Regions from separate parts of the Homo sapiens genome. Here regions 1 and 2 are each linked to region 3. Evidence: promoter capture Hi-C in 16 types of primary human blood cells and fetal thymus (Javierre and others, 2016). All regions are on one chromosome and are shown on one strand. The core of a region is centred on a gene start or on the middle of the fragment in contact, and the rest is flanking DNA. Distances in the headings are between cores, read along the strand shown.

Region 1 (2,700 bases), core at 108-2,607, 500 kb before region 3:
CCGCCTTATTAACAGACATTTATGTTCTATTTTGGGGGTATGAAAACAATGTTACTAGACATTTTTGTGTTAAAGTCTGCCAGATCTCCAACTATTTCTTTGGGATTGATTCCTACATAAGAAATTTGGTTTAGGCTAGGCGTGGTGTCTCATTACTATAATACCAGCGCTTTGGGAGGCTGAGGCAAGAGGATTGTAGGAGGCCAGGAGTTCAGGACCAGTCTGGGCAACATAGCAAGACACTGTCTACAAAAAAAAAATAAAAAAGAAAACTGGCTAACCATATGCAGAAAAATGAAACTGGACCCCTTTGTCTCACCATATACAAAAATTAACTCAGGATGGATTAAAGACTTAAATGTAAGATCTCAAACTCTAAAAATCCAAGAAGAAAACCTAGGAAATACTTTTCTGGACACTGGCTTAGACAAAGAATTTATGGTAAGTCCTCAAAAGCAAATGCAACAAATACAAAAATTGACAATTGGGACCTTATTAAACTAAAGACTTTCTGAACAGCAAAAGAAACTATTAACAGAGTAAACAGACAGCCTACAGAATGGGAGAAAATATTTGCAAACTATGCATCCAACAGAGGACTAATATCCACAATCTATAAGGAACCTAAATAAATCAACAAGAAAAAAACTAAATAATTCCTTTAAAAGTGGGCAAAGTACACGAATAGACACTTCTCAAAACAAGACATGCAAGTGGCCAACATATGAAAAAGTGCTTAACATCACTAATCATCAGAGAAATGCAAATCAAAACCACAATGAGATACCACCTCATACCAGTCAGAATGGCTGTTATTAAAAAGTCAAAAAATGGCCGGTGTGGTGGCTCATGCCTGTAATCCCACCACTTTGGGAGGCCAAGGTGGGAGGATTACCTGAGGTCAGGAGTTCAAGATCAGCCTGACCAGCATGGCGAAACCCCATGTCTACTAAAAATACAAAAAAATTAGCCAGGCATAATGGCACATTCCTGTAATCCCAGCTACTTGGGATGCTGAGGCAGGAGAATGGCTTGAACCTGGGAGGCGGAGGTTGGAGTGAGCTGGAGGTTGGAGTGAGCTGAGATTGCACCGTTGTACTCCAGCCTGGGTAACAAGAGTGAAAATCCGTCTAAAAAAAAGGCAAAAAATAACATGTTGGCGAAGTTTTGGAAAAAAGGAAACGTTTATACACTGTTGGTAGGATTGTGAATTAGCTTAGCCCCTATGGAAAGCAGTTTGGAGACTTCTAAAAGAATGAAAAATAGAATTACCATTTGACCCAGCAATCCCATTACTGGGTATATACTCGAGGAAAATAAATTCTTCTACCAAAAATATACCTACACTCACGTGTATTTTATCACAGCACTATGCATAATAACAAAGACATGGAATCAACCTAGGTGCCCATCAACAGTGGATTGGATAAAGAAAATCTGGTGTATATATATACCATGGAATACTATGCAGCCGTAAAAAAGAGCACAATTATGTCCTTAGCAGCAGCATGGATGTAGCTGAAGGTCATTATCCTAAGTGAATTAACACAGAAAGAGAAAACCAAATACTGCATGTTTTTACTTATAAATGGCAGCTAAACATTGGGTACACATGGACATAAAGATGGAATAGTAGACACTGGGGATTCCCCAAGGGGAGAGTTAGGGAGAGAGGTAAGTAAGGATTGAAAAACTACCTATTAGGTACTGTGCTCACTGTTTGGGTGACAGGATCAATAGAGGCCCAAACCAGCATCACGCAATGTACCTGTGTAGCAAATCTGCACAAGCACCCCTTGAATCTTTAAAAAAAAAAAAAAAATTAGCTAGGCATGGTGACATGAACCTGTAGTCTCAGCTACTCAGGAGGTTGAGACAGGAGGATTGTTGGACCCTAAGAGTTAGAGGCTGCAGTGGGCTGTAATCATGCCACTGTACTCCAGCTTGGGTGACAAAGTGAGATCCTGTCTAAAAAACATAAAAATTAATAAATTTGGGTTAAAGTGCATGAACTTCTTTAGTATTCTCCTTGAATATTAACATATTCTTTTCCAAAAATGTTTTACCAATTGACATTGCCACTCAGCCTCTACGTGAATGTTTCTATAATATTGTACTCAAACTGTGATTCTCTTTGCTGATTTCATGAGCAAAAGGTATGTTGTTTTGTCGTATAATTTTTTAGATTATTCATCAAGGTGGACAATTTTCTTATGCATATGATCCACTTGTATCTCTTTTTTAGTGAATTGTCTAGTTGTGCCTTTTACCCATTTATTTTCATTGAGGTTTTAGTGTTTTTCTTATTAATTTAATAAATTCTTTTAATTTTTTTATTATTATACTTTAAGTTCTGGGGTACATGTGCACAATGTGCAGGTTTGTTACATATGTATACATGTGCCATGTTGGTGCGCTGTGCCCATTAACTCGTCATTTACATTAGGTGTATCTCCTAATGCTATCCCTCCCCTCTCCCCCCAACCCATGGCAGGCCCCTGTGTGTGATGTTTCCCACCCTGTGCCCAAGTGTTCTCATTGTTCAATTCCCACCTATGAGTGAGAACGTGTGGTGTTTGGTTTTCTGTCCTTGCGATAGTTTGCTCAGAATGATGGTTTCCAGCTTCATCCATGTCCCTACAAAGGACATGAACTCATCCTTTTTTATGGCTGCATAGTATTCCATGGTGTATATGTGCC
Region 2 (2,700 bases), core at 35-2,534, 460 kb before region 3:
AGCTATTTATTTATTTTCTTTTAGAGATGGGGTCTTGCTCTGTTGCCCAGACTGATCTTGACCTCCTGGGCGCAAGCAATCCTGCCGCCTCAGCCTCCCAGAACACTGGGATTACAGGCATGAGCTACTGCACCTGGCATGGCAGCTCTTCTAACTCCCCACCTTTTGCCTTTTCAGAATTGTTTCTTTAGGGCCAATGCGTATGGATTTTAGAGTGAGCCCAGGGTGTAGTAGTCATTGTATAACATTAGACTCTTTCAGTTGCAAGTGTTAGAAAGCTCAAAAACTGGTCTAAGCAAAAGGAAGATTTACCAGTTCATATAACTGAAAAGTCTTGGGGTAGAAACCTATGTCACGAATGGCTTTGTCCAGAGGCTCCAGTATTACACTCAGAATCCAGTTTCTCTGTCTTTCAATTCTGCTCCCCATCTTTGTTTCTTTTCACATCCAGCCCACCCCTATAGCAACAATGAGTGTTGTACAGCTGCCCCCAACAATGGGTGTCAACTGCAGCCTCACATTCTCACAACTTTAGTGGAAAGAGACCATTTTCCTGGTAGTTCCTGCATGAGTCCCAGGCTTCACTCTGATTGGATCAGTCAGGGCCACTGCCCATCCTTGATCTGAAAACTGACCACAAGGTTGGAATTATGTTGATTGGCCAGCCCTGGTTCAAGACTTCCCTGAACCATTCACTGTGGTTGGAGACACTTGGAGGCCTATTCATGTAGGATCTCTGCCTGGGTCCCAGATATGGAGAGCAGGCTGTAATGGATCCTCAATGTTGGAGTGCTTTACCCTCCCCCCGCCGCCCCACACACACACAAAGAGGTACTGATACTAAGTTGCCAAACCCTCTCAGAAGACCATGGTAAATGTCAGTCTAGTGTGTTTTCAGGCAGTTGGGGAGTTCTGCAGCCTTCAACAACGCTTCTTGAGCTGTGATCTGCAGCTGTCCTGGTCTTTGAATTCTTTGTTACCTGTCCATGAAGAGATCGACTTTGGCACTAATCACACTGTTTAATTGAGCTGGCTTTTTTTTTTTGCAAGACATTTTGAAGGAGGAAGCGATGCATTGATTTTACATTCTCTTGCCAACTCCTTATCTTCTCGAGGACCAGCACTTTGAGTGGCATTCCTCTAGAGCACAGCCTTTTTTTAGAGATGGGGGTCTCACTGTGTTGCCCATGCTGGCCTCAAACTCTTGGGCTCACGTCATCCTCCTGCCTCAGCCTCCCGAGTAGCTGGGACTACAGACACGGGCCATGCACCCTGCTGAGAGCACATTCTTCTTAAATAAGCAAAAAGAAGCTGTTGCAATTCAAAATCTTTGAACAAAGGGAAACAACCAAAAACCAAATACACCCAATTAGAGTGGGAGGAGGGCGGAAAGCAGATGCTTATTATTGTTTTATAGTAAAATAACTCAACCCAGCATCTTTTCTTTGTTTCTGAGTTCTTTGTTTTTACATCGTTGCTTAGAAATTCATAGGGTGGATAAACATGAGGCACTTGTACAGTTTGTGTTGGATAGAAAACAGGCATCAATATGCTGGTGCCAAGCTGTCAGTTTAATGAATCCATAAGGAATGGGGGAAAAGCGCTCCATTAAAATCCGTAGATGTATTGTTATGCAAAACACTTTCGGGGTAGCTCTGCTCCATAAAGCCCTCCTTTATCTGACAAGACCTTGAAGTTCTGTTCTCCTGATCTGTAGCTTCTGGGAGGAAGCTGAGTTAACTCTGCACAGATGCTATGGGAAAAGCTCTTGGTTGATTTTTCTACCTCAGACTCACAACCAAATGATCTACAGAGTTAAGGGAAAGGAGATTTTTCTTGTAGCTGTCCATTCACTACATAGTTATTTGGGACCTACTATGTGTTGGGGGCATAAAGACAAATAAGACCTGGTTTCTGACCTTGAGGAACTGAAAGGGATGGGGCAGGGAGTGAAAGACACACAGCTCACCATGGGAACAGCCACCATGAATATTTGATGTTAAGCATGTGCCAGGCACTTTCTGTCACCAATCTTGATGAAGTGTGAGTTGGACTTGGGCTGATTCGGGCCTGCTTGCCCAGCTTTCCTACACTGAGTAAGGTCACAGTGATCATGGCTCTGATGGGTGAGTGTCAGTCTTGGAGGGACAGTATGACTTTGATGGCTCATGACTCTTCTTATAATTTCCTGGTCAAAAGCCTTCTCAGCTGGACAGGACTGCCTCAGCCTGTGCTGGCCAGTGTTCAGAAAAGATGTACAAATTCATACATTACTGAGCTTGGTGGAGAGAGGCCATCCTGGCATTGGCAATTTGGCTCAAGCCATGCTGTTTTCTTGCTTGGGGGAGGCCAGGGTCTGCAGCTGGAGGGACCCTAGAAGTCTAGGTCAAGGCACCTTGACAGGACAGGAATTGTTTTCCTTGCTGAGCTCTTTGATCTTGGTCCTTCCTAATGGCTTGTCCTTGTTTCTCTCTTCCATGAGCACAATATTCACTCAACATACTGGGGATGGAGATGGGATTGTGTGTGCGGTAGGGGGATGTTGATGAGGAAACACATATGGATCATTAAACCCATGTGGAGTGAGTTACTCAGTTAAGCAAAATGGTACCCGTGGGTCCTCTCTGTCTTTGTGTGGCTCCAATATCATAAAGGAAGTTGGATCCACAAAGGAAGAGTGTAAATGTTGGTGTAGAATGG
Region 3 (2,700 bases), core at 28-2,527:
ATGGCACATGTATGCATATGTAACAAACCTGCACGTCGTGCATATGTACCCTAGAACTTAAAGTATAAAAAATAATAATAAAATAAAGAAAAAATACCTCTCTGCAGCAAAAAGAAAAAAAAAGAAGACATAAACGATTTCTATTAAGTCAACAGTTTAAAATGAAGGTTTAATTACTTCAATGACCGAAAAAGTATTAACATATTCGTTTAAAGAGTGTAAAATAAGCATCCTTTACGTATCTATCTTCAAGTAAGTGATGTACAGTGCCTTAAAAACAAAACATAAAAACAAAACATTCAACTTGCAAATTCTGGCTCGCAAAACCCTTTCCACCTACCCGCATGCCCGGCACTTTTTGTTAGCATCTCTCTCTGCAATGAACCGTTATTCGAGGCACGACGACAATGTACATTTTTCAATCTCTCAGAACGTCACGTCTTACCTCCCAAGTTGCATTCTGGGCTCAAAGGCCTGTAATTTGTGTGTATTCCTTAGTATAAACCACTACACTGCAGGTGCTCACCAAAATACTCGCTGCCACACCACAGGTATTCTCACACGGGTAAGGCGAGAGGCACATTTCATCACACAGGGGACTTGAACAAACTGCACGGGACATTTCAGGGGTCCTCTTATGGGCGGAGCAGAGCAGCGGGGCAAAGGCTTTCCAGCCAGGTCCCTTCTCCATCCATTTCTCCCCAGGTGCCCGCGCCGGTTCCGCGTGCGGGTCTGGCCAAAAAACCTCCGAAGCGCGCGCGCGAGCCGCAGTCGGCGCATGCGCGGGGCGGGCTTGGCGGCGAAAGGCGCTTCCTCAGCCCGCGCGGGAGACCCAGAAGTAGTACTGAGGTAGCGCTCGTCCTCCCGCCGGTCCACCACCACCGAGTGTAGCCCGGGCCCGGCCTATTTCATCAGACACAACCCCAGAGCCGGGAGCCACCCCTACCCCGGGAGCCCTTCGCCAAGCACGCAGCTCCAGACCAGAAGCAGTCGCTCCGACCCAGAGCTCCGGGTGGGGTAAAGAGATTGCTTTTACTCACCGCCTCCGAGATTGCCTCGGGATTCGCGAAAGCCCCCGAAGGGAAGCGAGCACTTTCTGAGGCTGTGAAAGGACGGCTGCTCGCTTTTCTCTTTCGCCCTTTTCCCTCACCAGAGTGCCAAATCCTCGGTGGGAAAGCCGACCCCTCCGGACAGCCCGCGCTTTAAGGCCGGGGGCTGCCGGCCGGGCTCGGAGGCGGCCGGACCCGCCCCGCCCGGGAGCCCGCGCGACGTCACGCGGGAGTTCCACTTGCGTCACGCCCCTTCCTCCAGCTGCCCATCGCGGCGGCGCACTTCGTGCCCTAGCTGAGGAGCGGGCTCTTCGGTGCGGCCCATCCCGGAGGGCGATGGTTGGGGAGGGGAGCGCTACCTCGGAGCTGCCGGGAGCTACCCGAAGAGTCTGGCGACCGCCACAGCATTTCTGAATTGCGCTGGGGAAAGCTCAAGCCGTTCTGTTGGGGGAGCATCAAGCCCTTGCGGTTCTGTGAAAGTTATCTGTACACTGTGTCTAGCTTAAGCATTTTGCAGGGAAGCATGTGTAGAGTGACCTGTACCGAATGAAGAGTTAAAATTAACTGATGGGGGGTATGGACGCGGATCCGTCTAACATAGTTTTCGGCCTTGTCGCTGTTATCTGCAGTTTAGTGATGTGACCTGACAGGGTTGTGCGGTAACGCCATAGATCAAAACGATCTGTATTTTGCTGAGGTTAAACGGGAAGTTTCTGGCAAATTTGAAACGAGAAGGAATCTCCTTCAGCATTATTTATTGGGACAACATGCTGTTAGATAATTTTTTTTAAAAAGTCCATTTTTCTTGTGGCTGTTCGTTTGAGATTCAAACCGATAGTAGGTATTCCTATTTCTCCTGATTTGTAAAAGAATCGTTTTTAGACCACTAGAAATTCTACAAATGAACAAAATAGACTAGAATCAAATATCTTTTAAACCAGTCCAGTACTTTTGTGTAATTATTCTAAGACCTGGGAAGGGATAATATTAACAGGCTTTAAAAGTTTAGTACTTAGAAATCATAAATACAAAGTGGAAAGGTAATTTTTCCACCTGTCCCACATCTTAAGGGATGAATAAATATAACTTAAAAAGTTAGTATACAGAAGAGGGGTGCTAAACCTTCTATTAGCCTGTTACAGCAACTATCATTCACTTCCCCATTTTATAAGACTTAACTCCACATTTTTAAAAGAAAATGGATGAAATTTTGACTATGTAATTTTTAACGCAAGATAGGAAACATAATTGACAGAGTGAAGCTTTTATGTTTATGACAGAAATAACCTGTAATAAGTTTGTCATTTAACAGAGTATTGAAAGAGCAGTGTGCTGTGGTCTCTACTGTGGTCCAAAGAAAAACTGAGCAGAATGACCCAACCTGTTCCTATGGCCTCTGCCTGTGTCTCACTCTCTAATCCATTTATGCAAGTCAGAAACCAAAGAGTCATCCTTGACACTTTATTCATCCCTAACTTCCATATCCAAGCCATCACGCAGTCCAATTTTACTTACTAAACATGTAAATCCATCCCCTTCTCTCCATCACTACCTCCATAATCCAAGATACTGTTATTTCTTACCTAGTCTACTGCTAGGCTCCTTTCCACATCCACGCTACCAACCACCCCTCCTAAATCTTTGTTTTCAC

The links. The method cuts DNA at HindIII sites, captures the fragments that hold promoters and counts their contacts. A CHiCAGO score of 5 or more calls a contact.
Region 1: a contact is called between a fragment that was not itself captured here and the fragment with the promoter of RBBP8 in region 3, in 7 of 17 cell types (non-activated CD4 T cells, naive CD4 T cells, monocytes and 4 more). The highest score is 7.8, in non-activated CD4 T cells.
Region 2: a fragment that was not itself captured here is called in contact with the fragment with the promoter of RBBP8 in region 3 in 3 of 17 cell types (total CD8 T cells, M0 macrophages and total CD4 T cells); the score reaches 5.4 in total CD8 T cells.

The regions. Positions count from the first base shown.
Region 1 is chr18:23,427,807-23,430,506 of GRCh38, reverse strand. The region is part of intron 2 of SLC35D4 (solute carrier family 35 member D4); the gene reads left to right. Among named protein-coding and RNA genes, the nearest start is that of SLC35D4, 8.8 kb to the left of the region's middle. The HindIII fragment of the contact is 6,062 bases long and covers 1-2,700 here.
Region 2 is chr18:23,395,210-23,397,909 of GRCh38, reverse strand. All of the region lies in intron 4 of SLC35D4 (solute carrier family 35 member D4), which reads left to right. Among named protein-coding and RNA genes, the nearest start is that of SLC35D4, 41 kb to the left of the region's middle. The HindIII fragment of the contact is 3,960 bases long and covers 1-2,700 here.
Region 3 is chr18:22,931,905-22,934,604 of GRCh38, reverse strand. It overlaps RBBP8 (RB binding protein 8, endonuclease), which reads right to left and starts at 1,277. Exons shown (of 19, transcript NM_002894.3): 1 at 1,041-1,277. RBBP8-AS1 (RBBP8 antisense RNA 1) reads left to right here and starts at 841. Exons shown (of 5, transcript NR_198963.1): 1 at 841-1,017. It overlaps MIR4741 (microRNA 4741), which reads right to left and starts at 1,256; the gene lies at 1,167-1,256. RefSeq lists enhancers at 484-533, 894-1,023, 707-1,547 and a silencer at 1,154-1,233. The HindIII fragment of the contact is 3,221 bases long and covers 1-2,313 here.